Linked DNA regions of Homo sapiens: region 1 is linked to region 2. Evidence: promoter capture Hi-C in human tissues and cell types (Jung and others, 2019). All regions are on one chromosome and are shown on one strand. The core of a region is centred on a gene start or on the middle of the fragment in contact, and the rest is flanking DNA. Distances in the headings are between cores, read along the strand shown.

Evidence for each region. Contacts are between HindIII fragments. The study calls those that stand out against the background at their distance.
Region 1: a fragment that was not itself captured here is called in contact with the fragment with the promoter of MYOC in region 2 in 1 of the 25 tissues and cell types used here (pancreas).

What each region holds. Positions count from the first base shown.
Region 1 is chr1:171,594,668-171,600,228 of GRCh38, forward strand. No RefSeq gene overlaps it. Among named protein-coding and RNA genes, the nearest start is that of MYOCOS, 25 kb to the right of the region's middle. The HindIII fragment of the contact is 5,166 bases long and covers 1,274-5,561 here.
Region 2 is chr1:171,649,171-171,654,725 of GRCh38, forward strand. It overlaps MYOC (myocilin), which reads right to left and starts at 3,518. Exons shown (of 3, transcript NM_000261.2): 1 at 2,838-3,518. The coding sequence starts at 3,441. The HindIII fragment of the contact is 9,045 bases long and covers 828-5,555 here.

The sequences.
Region 1 (5,561 bases), core at 2,607-5,106, 54 kb before region 2:
ACTAGTCATTTAGTCACTAATGACGCATGTGCCTTCTTAACTCATGGATACTGCGATTGTTAAACACAAGATACTCAAGTTTTGATGGTTTTGTGTTGGGTAGAGACAGGGTTTCTCCATGTTGCCCAGGCTGGTCTTGAACTCCTGAGCTCAAGCAATCCACCTGCCTCAGCCTCCCAAAGTTCTGGGATTACAGGCGTGAGCCACCGCACCAGGTCTGATACGTATTAATAGGCCCTGCCTTGATCCAAGTTTTCAGTCTAGGGTTTTTCTCAAAATATGCTCTAAATTAAAAGCTGTGGTTTATTGCAGGGGATTGGGGGAAGAGGTATGATGGATAAGAATGGGAATCAAGTACTTGCCTTACTAAGTCACTGCCATTGTCAGTATTTTTCATATTCTAGTTTTTAAGTTTAATCCTCCTAAATTTTAAGACCTAATGGGTGACCAGCTATACAGCTTGCATTACCCCCACTTGCAAACCAGCAGGCATGTGCTATTTGGTTGTATTAACTGTTAAAATACCACTAATACTTTGGGTCCTTCGCTAGAACCTACAATGGAAAAATGGCACCAAAAGCATATCGAATGAAAGTAAGATAATGTATATAAGTGTCTCTGCAGTTGGCCATGTAGTTTTGTCCATGGCTTCTCTGACATGTGACAGAATAACCCAAAAGGTTTTGCAGTTAATAGTTGACTGTAGATACTTGGTCACATAAGCTTCTGAACATTGTCCCTGAGCTGCCCTGGTAGAAGGTAAGGGGAGTCCAGGTCCTTGCCCCTAGTTAATAACAAATAGTGCTTATGATAGAAGAGTGATTGGGGGAGGAGGGTTGGGGAATGAGAGGAGGGTATAGTTTATAAAGTTCTAACAAACTCTTGGCCAGAGGCAAGATACAGAGGGCAGAATGAGTCAGAAGCTATTTAAGTGTCTTTTCTAACAAGTAACCCGTGATTTTTCATGTTACCACTGCAGCATATTTCACAGATGCTTACCATTTTCAGTACTGACTTCACATGCCCCTGCAACTTTTTTCCACCTTATGGATAAATATAAAACTATATTATAGTTTGACAGACCTAATTATTTTGTAGGTGCTTTAGAAGTAGAAGAACTAGGATTGGTGGTTGGTCAGTTAAAATGGAAAGTCACAAAGTCTAGATACTTTGATTGCTTGTATTAGATGTATGCTTATTTTCCATACAATCTTTTAATGAAGGACTACACCATTTCTTTGAGATGTCTGCTGCCTAGATTCTATTACATATGCATCATATATAGTTTTCAGTTTTGTCTTAAAGAAATCTGAATAGAGAATTCCCTTGAACTTTCACAGATACCTTCCCTCAGTTTTCCAGCTTTCTTCATACCCCTAATTTGACCACAGTTTTTACAGTAAAAATTGTAGAAATCAAGTAATATTGACAACCACCTACTAGCTAATAGTCATCAGTCAACTTATATTACCTTGGAAGTGGTTAAATAGAGTTTGGTTAAGAGCCACAAATTTACTTCATATTGTAATGTAATTATTTTTTTAAAAACTTCCCTCAACAGAAAGGAATAATGTGCTACAGGAAAAGGAAAACTTACCTGAGGTAGAGAGTTTAAGCAAGAGGTGAATCTGGTGTAATCAGGCAAGGAGTCAAGTATTAACTCTGTATGTGTCAGGTGCTGGGAATATAGAGGACAGTTTCTTAACACAGTCTGGGGTGTAGGTGGAGATACATGGGGTGGCTTTGAGGCCTTTCAGGTTTTCATCACTGATAGATACCTAGCCCTTATTTCATGGATGCCTCAAACCCCATTTTCCAGTCTAAGCTTTCGCCCCTAATCTATTTGCCTGTACTGCATAACCTTCTAAATATGATTAAAATCTTCCAGAAGTTTTTAGTCAGCCCTGATCTGGCCTTCTCACCATTTCTTCACATACTAGCTAATATTTAATAAGTAGAATTATGTGTAAATTTGGGTCTTCCTGGTATATGAGCAAAAAAAGCAATAGTTTCCTTATCTGAGCTGAAAAAGACACTAATGTTCAGTGGAGAACAGAGGAAGAGAATTCCAATAAGCAGAGCCTGTGGTTCCAGGTGAATAAGTCTTAAGTTCAAGGATGGTGTAGAGGGACAGAGATGCATTCTGGCCCTCCAGGGTTAGATTTGTCAAGAGGCGAAATAGTTAATTTCAGACAGTTCTCTGGAACTGATGTAATCTGGTTTACTTAGGGCAGTGGTTTTCAGATTGGAAGTACACACTATTAAACAGAAGCAATTCCACTTTAAAATTTTGCTTGGCTAAAGGATTCAGTGGCTATTTTTTTTTTTTTTTTAATTACCAATGTGAATAAGGTTTATTGGTTCCGGGGAGGAGACACCCTCTCTAGTATGAGAAGCTGCAAAGAAGGTTGTACTTGGAGTAAAAACCACACTCTTCACAGAAGCTGATCGTGATACCCATTGAGGAGACTGATTGGGCCTCAGCTTTCTATAACCTGGGAATATAAATGGGTGTTATAAAGTTTCGTGTTACATGACTCAGTTATCAGAATTGTATCTCCAGCTTAGAACCTTACAGGGAAAAACTGGAAATTACACATAAATATCACCCACTTGCCCCCTCCACCCCCCAACTTTATAAGGTAGGTAATATTATTTACACATGCAGAGAATGAGGTGTGGTAACCTGCCCAATGATACACAGTAAGCAGAGGAGGCAGGGTTTTTTGGTCCAGACAGTCTAATTCTTAAGTGTAAGCTCTTTACTAAGCTGCACTGTTGTGAAAGCACTGTACTTGAAGTTACAGGCATACCTTGTTTTACTGCACTTTGCAGATATTGCAAGATTTTTTCTTCAAAATAACGAAGGTTTGTGGCAACCCCATGTTGAGCAAGTTCATTAGTGCTATTTTCTAACAGTGTGTGCTCATTTCCTGTCTGTGTCACATTTGATAACTCTTAAAATTATTTCAGGCTTAAATTATCATGTTATGGTGATCCGGGATCTTGAATGTTACTAGTGTAATTTGGAGCCTCATGAACCACACCCATACGATGGTGAACATAAATGCACGTGTTCTGATTGCTCCACAAACAGGCTGTTCCCTCTCTCCGTCTCCTTAGGCCTCTGTATTCCCGGAGACACAACATTGAAATTAGGCCAATTAATAGCCCTACAGTGGCCTCTAAGTGTTCAAGTAAAAGGAAGAGTCGCACGTCTCAGTTTAAATCAAAAGCTGAAAATGATTAAGCTTAATGAGGAAGGCATGGCAAAATCTGAGATGGGCCAGAAAGATAGGCTTCTTGGGCCCATTAGACAAGTTGTGAATGCAAAAGATAAATCTTGAAGGAAATTAAAAGTGCTACTCCAGTGACTACACAATGATAAGAAAACAAAAGAACCCTATTTCTGATATAAAGTTTTAGTGGTCTGGATAAAAGATTGAAACAGGCCCAACATTCTCTTAAGCCAAAACCGTATCCAGAGCAAAGCCGTAACTCCAATTCCGTGAAGTCAGAGAGGTGAAGAAGTTGTGGAAGAAAAGTTTGAAGCTAGCAGAGGCTGGTTCATGAGATTTAAGGAAAACACCCATCTCCATAACATTAAAGTGCAAAGTGAAGCAGCAAGAGTTGATGTACGAACTGCAGCAAGTTGTCTGGAAGATCTAGCTGAGATAATTGATGAAGGGGCTATGCTAAATAGCAAGTATTTAAGGTAGACAAAATAGCCTTCTATTGGAAGCAGATGCCATCTAGGCCTTTCATAGGCTAGAGAGAAGTCAATGCCTGGCTTCAAAGCTTCAAAAAAGACTGACTTGTGAGGGGTTTATGCAGCTGGTGACTTTAAGCTGAAGCCAATACTCATTTACCATTTCGAAAATCCTAGGGCCCTTAAAAATTAAGCTAAATCTACTCTGCCTGTGCTCTAGAAATAGAACAGCAAAGCATGGATGACAGCACATCTCTATAGCATAACGCATCTAATATTTTAAACCCACTGTTGAGACCTATTGCTCAGGGACGGAAAAAACCTAAAGCTTTCAAAATATGATAAGCTCATTGACAATGCACCTAGTCACTCAAGAGTTGTGATGGAGATGTACAAGAAGATTGATGTTTTCATGCCTGCTAACATGACATCCATTCTACAACCTATGGATCAAAGAGTAATTTTGACTTTCAAGTCTTATTTAAGAAATATTAGGCCAGACGCGGTAGATCACGCTTGTAATCCCAGCACTTTGGGAGGCCGAGGCGGGCAGATCATGAGGTCAGGAGTTCGAGACCAGCCTGGCCAACATGGTGAAACCCCGTCTCTTCTAAAAGTACAAAAAAAAAAAAAATCCAGGCATGGTGGCACATGCTTGTAATCCTAGCTACTCAGGAGGCTGCGGAAGGAGAATTGCTTGAACCTGGGAGGTGGAGGTTGCAGTGAGCTGAGATTGTGCCACTGCACTCCAGCCTGGGTGACAGAGTGAGACTCTGTCTCAGAAAAGAATATATATATATTAATACGTTTTGTAAAGCTACAACTTTCGTAAATAGTGAGTCCTCTGATGAATCTGGGCAAAGAAATTGAAAGCCATATGAAAGGATTTACCATTCTAGATGCCATTAATAACATTTGTGGTTCATGGGAGGATGTCAGAATATCAACAACAAATAGGAGTTTGGAAGAAGTTTTATTCCAACCCTCATGGAGCCCTAGGGGATTCAAGACTTCAATAGAGGAAGTAAATGCAGATGTGGTGGAAATAGCAAGAGAGGTAGAGTTAGAAGTGGAGCCTGAAGGTGGGACTGAATTGCTGCAATCTCATGATCAAACTTGAACAGATGAGGAGTTGCTTCTTATGGATGAGCAAAGAAAGTGGTTTCTTGTGATGGAACCTTATCCTTGTGAAGATGCTGTGTATGTTGTTGAAATGACAAGAATTTAGAATTTTACACAAACTCAGTTAATAAAGCAGTGACAAGGTTTGAGGCGACTGACTCCAACTTTGGAAGAAGTTCTACTGTGGCTAAAATGATATCAAACAGCATCACGTGGTACAGATAACTCATTCATGAAAGGAAGAGTCAATTGATGTGGCAAACTTCATTGGCTTATTTGAAGAAATTGCCACAGCCACCCTGGTCTTCAGCAACCACCACCTTGATTAGGCAGCAGCCACCAACATCAAGGCAAGATTCTCCACCAACAAAAAGATATAACTTGGTTGGGCGCAGTGGCTCACGCCTGTAATCCCAGCACTTTGGGAGGCTGAGGCAGGCGGATCACCTGAGGTCCGGAGTTCCAGACCAGCCTGACCAACCTGGAGAAACCCCGTCTCTACTAAAAATAACAAAATTAGCCAGGCGTGGTGGTGCATGCCTGTAATCCCAGCTACTCAGGAGGCTGAGGCAGGAGAATCGCTTGAACCCAGGAGGCAGAGGTTTCCGTGAGCTGAGATCGCGCCATTTCACTCCAGCCTGGGCAACAAGAGCGAAACTCTGTCTCAGAAAAAAAAAAAAAGATATGACTCACTAGAAGCTCAGATGATCATTAGCATTTTTTTAGCAAT
Region 2 (5,555 bases), core at 2,268-4,767:
GAATTTTTTTCTACATAACAACTATTAATACATGATCAAGAAAGTGGTGGTAACAATTTGAGTTGCAGGTGGAATACAGAAAGGCTGCCTTCTCAGGCCTTACCTTTGTCCACTCAGCCTCACTAAGCTTCTCTACCCAAACCTTCACACCTAGTTCTTGCCACTCCTGCAAAAAAGCATACCTAGACTTATATTCCAGCCTCCAGAATGCCCCCTTTTCCCTAGATCTGGCCTTGAAACAGATCTTTTGTTCCAAGCATTCCTGTACCTTTCTGTCTTTTACCTTTAGGGTCTATAAACCAGAGGTCAGCTGAAGGTCTTGAAAGTCAATGAACCTCATGGCCATGTACAGGGAGGGCTCACACCTGTAATCCCAGTGCTTTGGAAGGCCGAGGTCGGCAGATCACCTGAGGTCAGGAGTTCGAGACTAGCCTGACCAACATGGTGAAACCCTGTCTCTACTAAAAATACAAAATTAGCCGGGCATGGTGGCACATGCCTATAATCCCAGCTACTCAGGAGGCTGAGGTAGGAGAATTGCTTGAACCCGGGAGGCAGAGGTTTCAGTGAGCCAAGATCGTGCCATTACACTCTAGCCTGGGCAACAAGAGTGAAACTCTGTCTCAAAAAAAAAGAAAGAAAGTCACTGAACTTCAGAGGAAGAGGCCAGAATTCGAGCTTTGCCACTAACTGGTAGATGGCCATGGACAAGCTGAATAACCTCTCTGGGCCTCAGTTTCCATATCTGCAAAAATCAGCCAGCGGTACCGGATGCTCATTAGGTCCCTTTCCAGTTCCACATTCTTGTACTAATGTAATTTCCTGCTCATGAAAAACATCTACTACTAGAAAAGAACTTCCATGTTTGGTGTTCAATATAATGGGATGTTGCCCTTATTTCAAAAGTGGAGTAGCTGGAAAGATCAAGAAAAAATATAAAATTAGGAAACACATCTAATAAATCCCCAAAGACTTGTTAAATGACCACAAAAGAAAAAAAAAGGCAAAACATTGCCACTATTTTTGTACACACACACACACACCACCCACACCCACATACACACATGCAGGAGTTTTTATTGAGAATGTAACTTCATTCAACAGTCTGAAATAAGTAATGCCTCATCACACTTCTGGTAATGATGATTCTTTCAATTGTCTCCACAGATTCAAGTCTCAAGCTCTACCACTGACCAGCTGGGCAACCTTGGCCCCTTAGCATCTTAGGACTTCACTTTCCTTGGTTGTAAAATTCAGAATTGGATCTCTTCTAATTCTAACAATCTAAACATTTTTTAAAAATCCTTTACATCTTATAGGTATTTCATGTGAACCCCACAAAAATTATTCACAGCAGGAATTTTCTTTGTTATGTTATGGACAAGAAATGAAGATGCAGAGGGTTCAATAACTTGCCCAAGGTCATCCCCAGGCTCTGGCTCTTAGGTTTTCTAACCCCATAGCTATGAAGAGCTTGCCTTTCACGTAGAAGGCTCTTTTTAGGAAATATTTTCTCATAATTTTAAAGCTTTTCAAGCCTATAGAAAAACTGAAAGAATAGTACAATAAGCTCCCCATATACTTAGATTCACCAGTTTGTAATTCACCAGTTATTAATATTTTGCCACAGTTGTTTTACCTTTCTTTCTCTCATTATCTATATATTTGCAGTCTTTCTTCAACCATTTGAGAGCAAATTGCAGACATCCTGACGCCTCACCCTGGGTACTTAAGCATGTATCTCCATAGAACAAAGATTTTATCCTTCGCAACCACAGTATCATTATCTCACCAAGAAACTGAACATTAATACAGTAACATAATAATGAGCAGTCAAATTGCCTCAGTTATCCCAAACCTGTTCCTCATAGCCTTTTTCCCCCTTGGATGAAGACACCAATCAAGACTCATGCACTACATTTGGTTAACACATTTCTTTAGTCTCTTTAATATAGAACAAGCCCTTCCCCACCCCTTTTTTCTTTCTTCCTTGGCACTGACATCTTTGACCAGTCCAAACTAATTGTCCAACAACTGGATTTGCTTGCTTATTTCCTCATGATTAGAACACTTCCTCAACAGGGAATATTTGGGAGCCCACTTTCACAAAAAGTGACACAAATACCATCTTCCCAGCTAATAAGAAGACCTCCCCCAACACCTCACCCCCGCACCCCCCCCACACACACACAGACTCACCTTTAGGCAAGAAGGGACCAGGATGAACAGAAGAGCCTCTCAGAAAAAGCCATCTCAAGAATTTGTCTGATGACTTAAAAGCAGAGGTTCTCAGATTGGACTGAGTAAGAAAACTTTCAGAACAACATATTAAGAAAACTGACAGAGAGGTGCCATCTCTTTATTTTGCCAGGGAAGAACATTTAAAAATAAACAAAAACTTACCACTTATTATCATTTCCCAAATCTATTGTAATTTCATAAATAAAGGTCATTTTAACATCAAAAGGTACAAATAACAATCTGAGCAAAGGTTCAAAAAAGGATAGTTTTTCAAAAGGGACAATTGACAACTTTCTACTGCTCATATGCAGACACATCTCACCCGGTCCTTTTATTTCTCCTTTTGCTATGGACTGTGAAAACTGACATGGAGGGGCACAAGAACTCTGAACCACTAATCTAAATGAAGCTCTCAGGAGCTAAATTACTAGTAATACTTGAAGGTGATCGCTGTGCTTTCCTTAATTCATCTGTCTTGTGCTAGCTGTGCAGTCTCTAGGAGAAAGGGCAGGCAGGGAGGCCTGGAGCGCCTGTAGCAGGTCACTACGAGCCATATCACCTGCTGAACTCAGAGTCCCCCCACTCTGCATTCTTACCTTCTCTGGAGCCTGGTGGCACAGCCCGAGCAGTGTCTCGGGTCTGGGGACACTGGCCCCTTCTCAGCCTTGCTACCTCCTGGCTGCTGCTTTCCAACCTCCTGGCCAGATTCTCATTTTCTTGCCTTAGTCGCTTCTTCTCTTCCTCCAGAACTGACTTGTCTCGGAGGAGGTTGCTGTAGGCAGTCTCCAACTCTCTGGTTTGGGTTTCCAGCTGGTCCCGCTCCCGCCTCAGGGTGCCCAGCTCCCTCTGCAGCCCCTCCTGGGTCTCCTGGGGCCTGGCAGCCTGGTCCAAGGTCAATTGGTGGAGGAGGCTCTCCAGGGAGCTGAGTCGAGCTTTGGTGGCCTCCAGGTCTAAGCGTTGGGTGCTGCTGTCTCTCTGTAAGTTATGGATGACTGACATGGCCTGGCTCTGCTCTGGGCAGCTGGATTCATTGGGACTGGCCACACTGAAGGTATACTGGCATCGGCCACTCTGGTCATTGGCCTTCCTGAGCTGAGCTGTCCTGGCCCCCACATCCCACACCAGGCAGGCCAGAAGCAGCAGCTGGACAGCTGGCATCTCAGGCCCAAAGCTGCAGCAACGTGCACAGAAGAACCTCATTGCAGAGGCTTGGTGAGGCTTCCTCTGGAAAGCTCTGCTGTGCTGAGAGGTGCCTGGATGGGTGGCCTTGCTGGCTCATGCCCGAGCTCCAGAGAGGTTTATATATACTGGGGAGCCAGCCCTTCATGGGGGAAGACAGAGGTGGCCACGTGAGGCTGGGTGGGGCTGTGCACAGGGGGGTTGCCTTCACGCTGCCAGCAAGATTCTTAGAAAATAACCTTCCAGAAGTCTGTTTGGAGTTTCTTTTTAAAAAGAACATCCCAATTTATGCACCCATACCCCAATAATAGTTCCTATATCTCCACCTGGTTTTACACACACACACACACACACACACACGTACACACACTTACACCAGGACTACTGGTGTGCTGATTTCAACAAGGATATATTTCTAGTTTATATTTCCATTCACTCTGCAAACTCATTGAGAACCTGCACTGTGCCAGGCACTATGCTAGGAACTGGAGATCCAAACAAGTCCTTTAAGACGTAGCAGGGACAGAGAAAAATAACAGCCAGCCAGAACACAAGGACAGCACCCTACCAGGCTCCAGGGAGAGCATTCCTATAGAAGCGGCAGATTTCCCCCCTCACCCCTAGCTTTAAAACAACTGTGTATCTTTGGGAGAACTTTCTAATTTCAGTCTTGCATCTCAGGCACCAATGTCAATGTTAGCCTCTAAATCAGTTCTTACTCTGTGTGTGTGCATGCCAAGAACCTCATTGGTGAAATCTGGGGAACTCTTCTCAGAAAGATGTTTTCAAATATATAAAATATAGATTACAAAGGAAACAAATGATAATGAAATATGATTATCAAAATATCAAAATTTTAAACATGTTTTATTAATATGTTAAAAACAAGATCCAGCAGGAGGTCTAATTTCAAAGTAGTTTTGAGTATAAATATTTCACTTACAACGTATCTGCAACAACTGTAATATAGTATAAAATGTCTGTGATTTCTATTGGTAATGACAAAATCACAGGTACTGTTATTACCACTTTGAGTTTATGGCTCTATTCGCAATGGAATAAAATGTTAAATTTAGTTAGAAGGTGGTAAAAACAAAAATGTAATTTTTTCCTCATTCAAATTCACAGGCTTTCTGGACTGTAGGTTAATAATCCCTGCTTTACATTAATAAACCCAAAGAGAAAAAACAAAAAGCAAATGGCAATAGCCAATAAATATACCAAAACTGTCAGAAGTAACTTTAAGCCACTTGAAATAATGATTGCCTTTGAGCAACTTTATGTTGTTAATACCAACAACAGTGTCAATACTTGTGAAGTAAATATTTCCAAACTGCCCTGGCAGACTCACCTCCAGAGTGGAGAAACACAGTTTGCTCTAAAGATTCTATTCTTATTTGATTGGTTCTGCAGTTAAGCCTGAACTTGAGACATTTACAAATGGGTGTTTGTTTACAGCTGACCAAAGGGTACTAGTCTCATTTTCTGAATCAGATAGTAAACATCGCTGAAATGATTTTTCAAAAAACCAATCATATAGTCAGCAAGACCTAGGCTTGAATCTGTTTGGCTTTACTCTTAGGAATGTTTTCTTCCTGTTAAAAGAAACGGGATTGCCCTTGTGCTGCTAACTCCACAGAGAAAAAGAGTTCCTAATAAGGAGAAACTAAGTAATCTTACAGCCTCAGTTACTACCTTGTGACTTGCTCAGAATTACTCAGCTTGTAAAGGAAAAATATAGTATTAGAAATCAGGTCTCCCGACTTCCCTTGAACTGATTTTTTCCCCCCACAATATAGCCCTGCCTCCTAGAACCCAGGATCACGTGGACTATAATCCCTGTGGTCAATTCCCACTGCCCTTGAATGAATCTGTCTTTCTTGCTCATACACTATCCCTCTCTTTTTCTTCTCCTCCCCTGCGCTGCAGGTCACTCCGTGCTGTCAGCAGTCACTGCTGAGCTGCGTGGGGTGCTGGTCAGGGTGAAAAGTTTAACAATCTCTGGCATTTTCCACTTGCTCTGGCCCAGTTTTTGAATGCCAGGCAAAAGCTACCACCAGTTAGTCTCTGCATTCTTTTTGGTTATTGGCAAATGCCATTGTCTATGCTTAGGGAAGGAAAATGTGGCTGTTGGG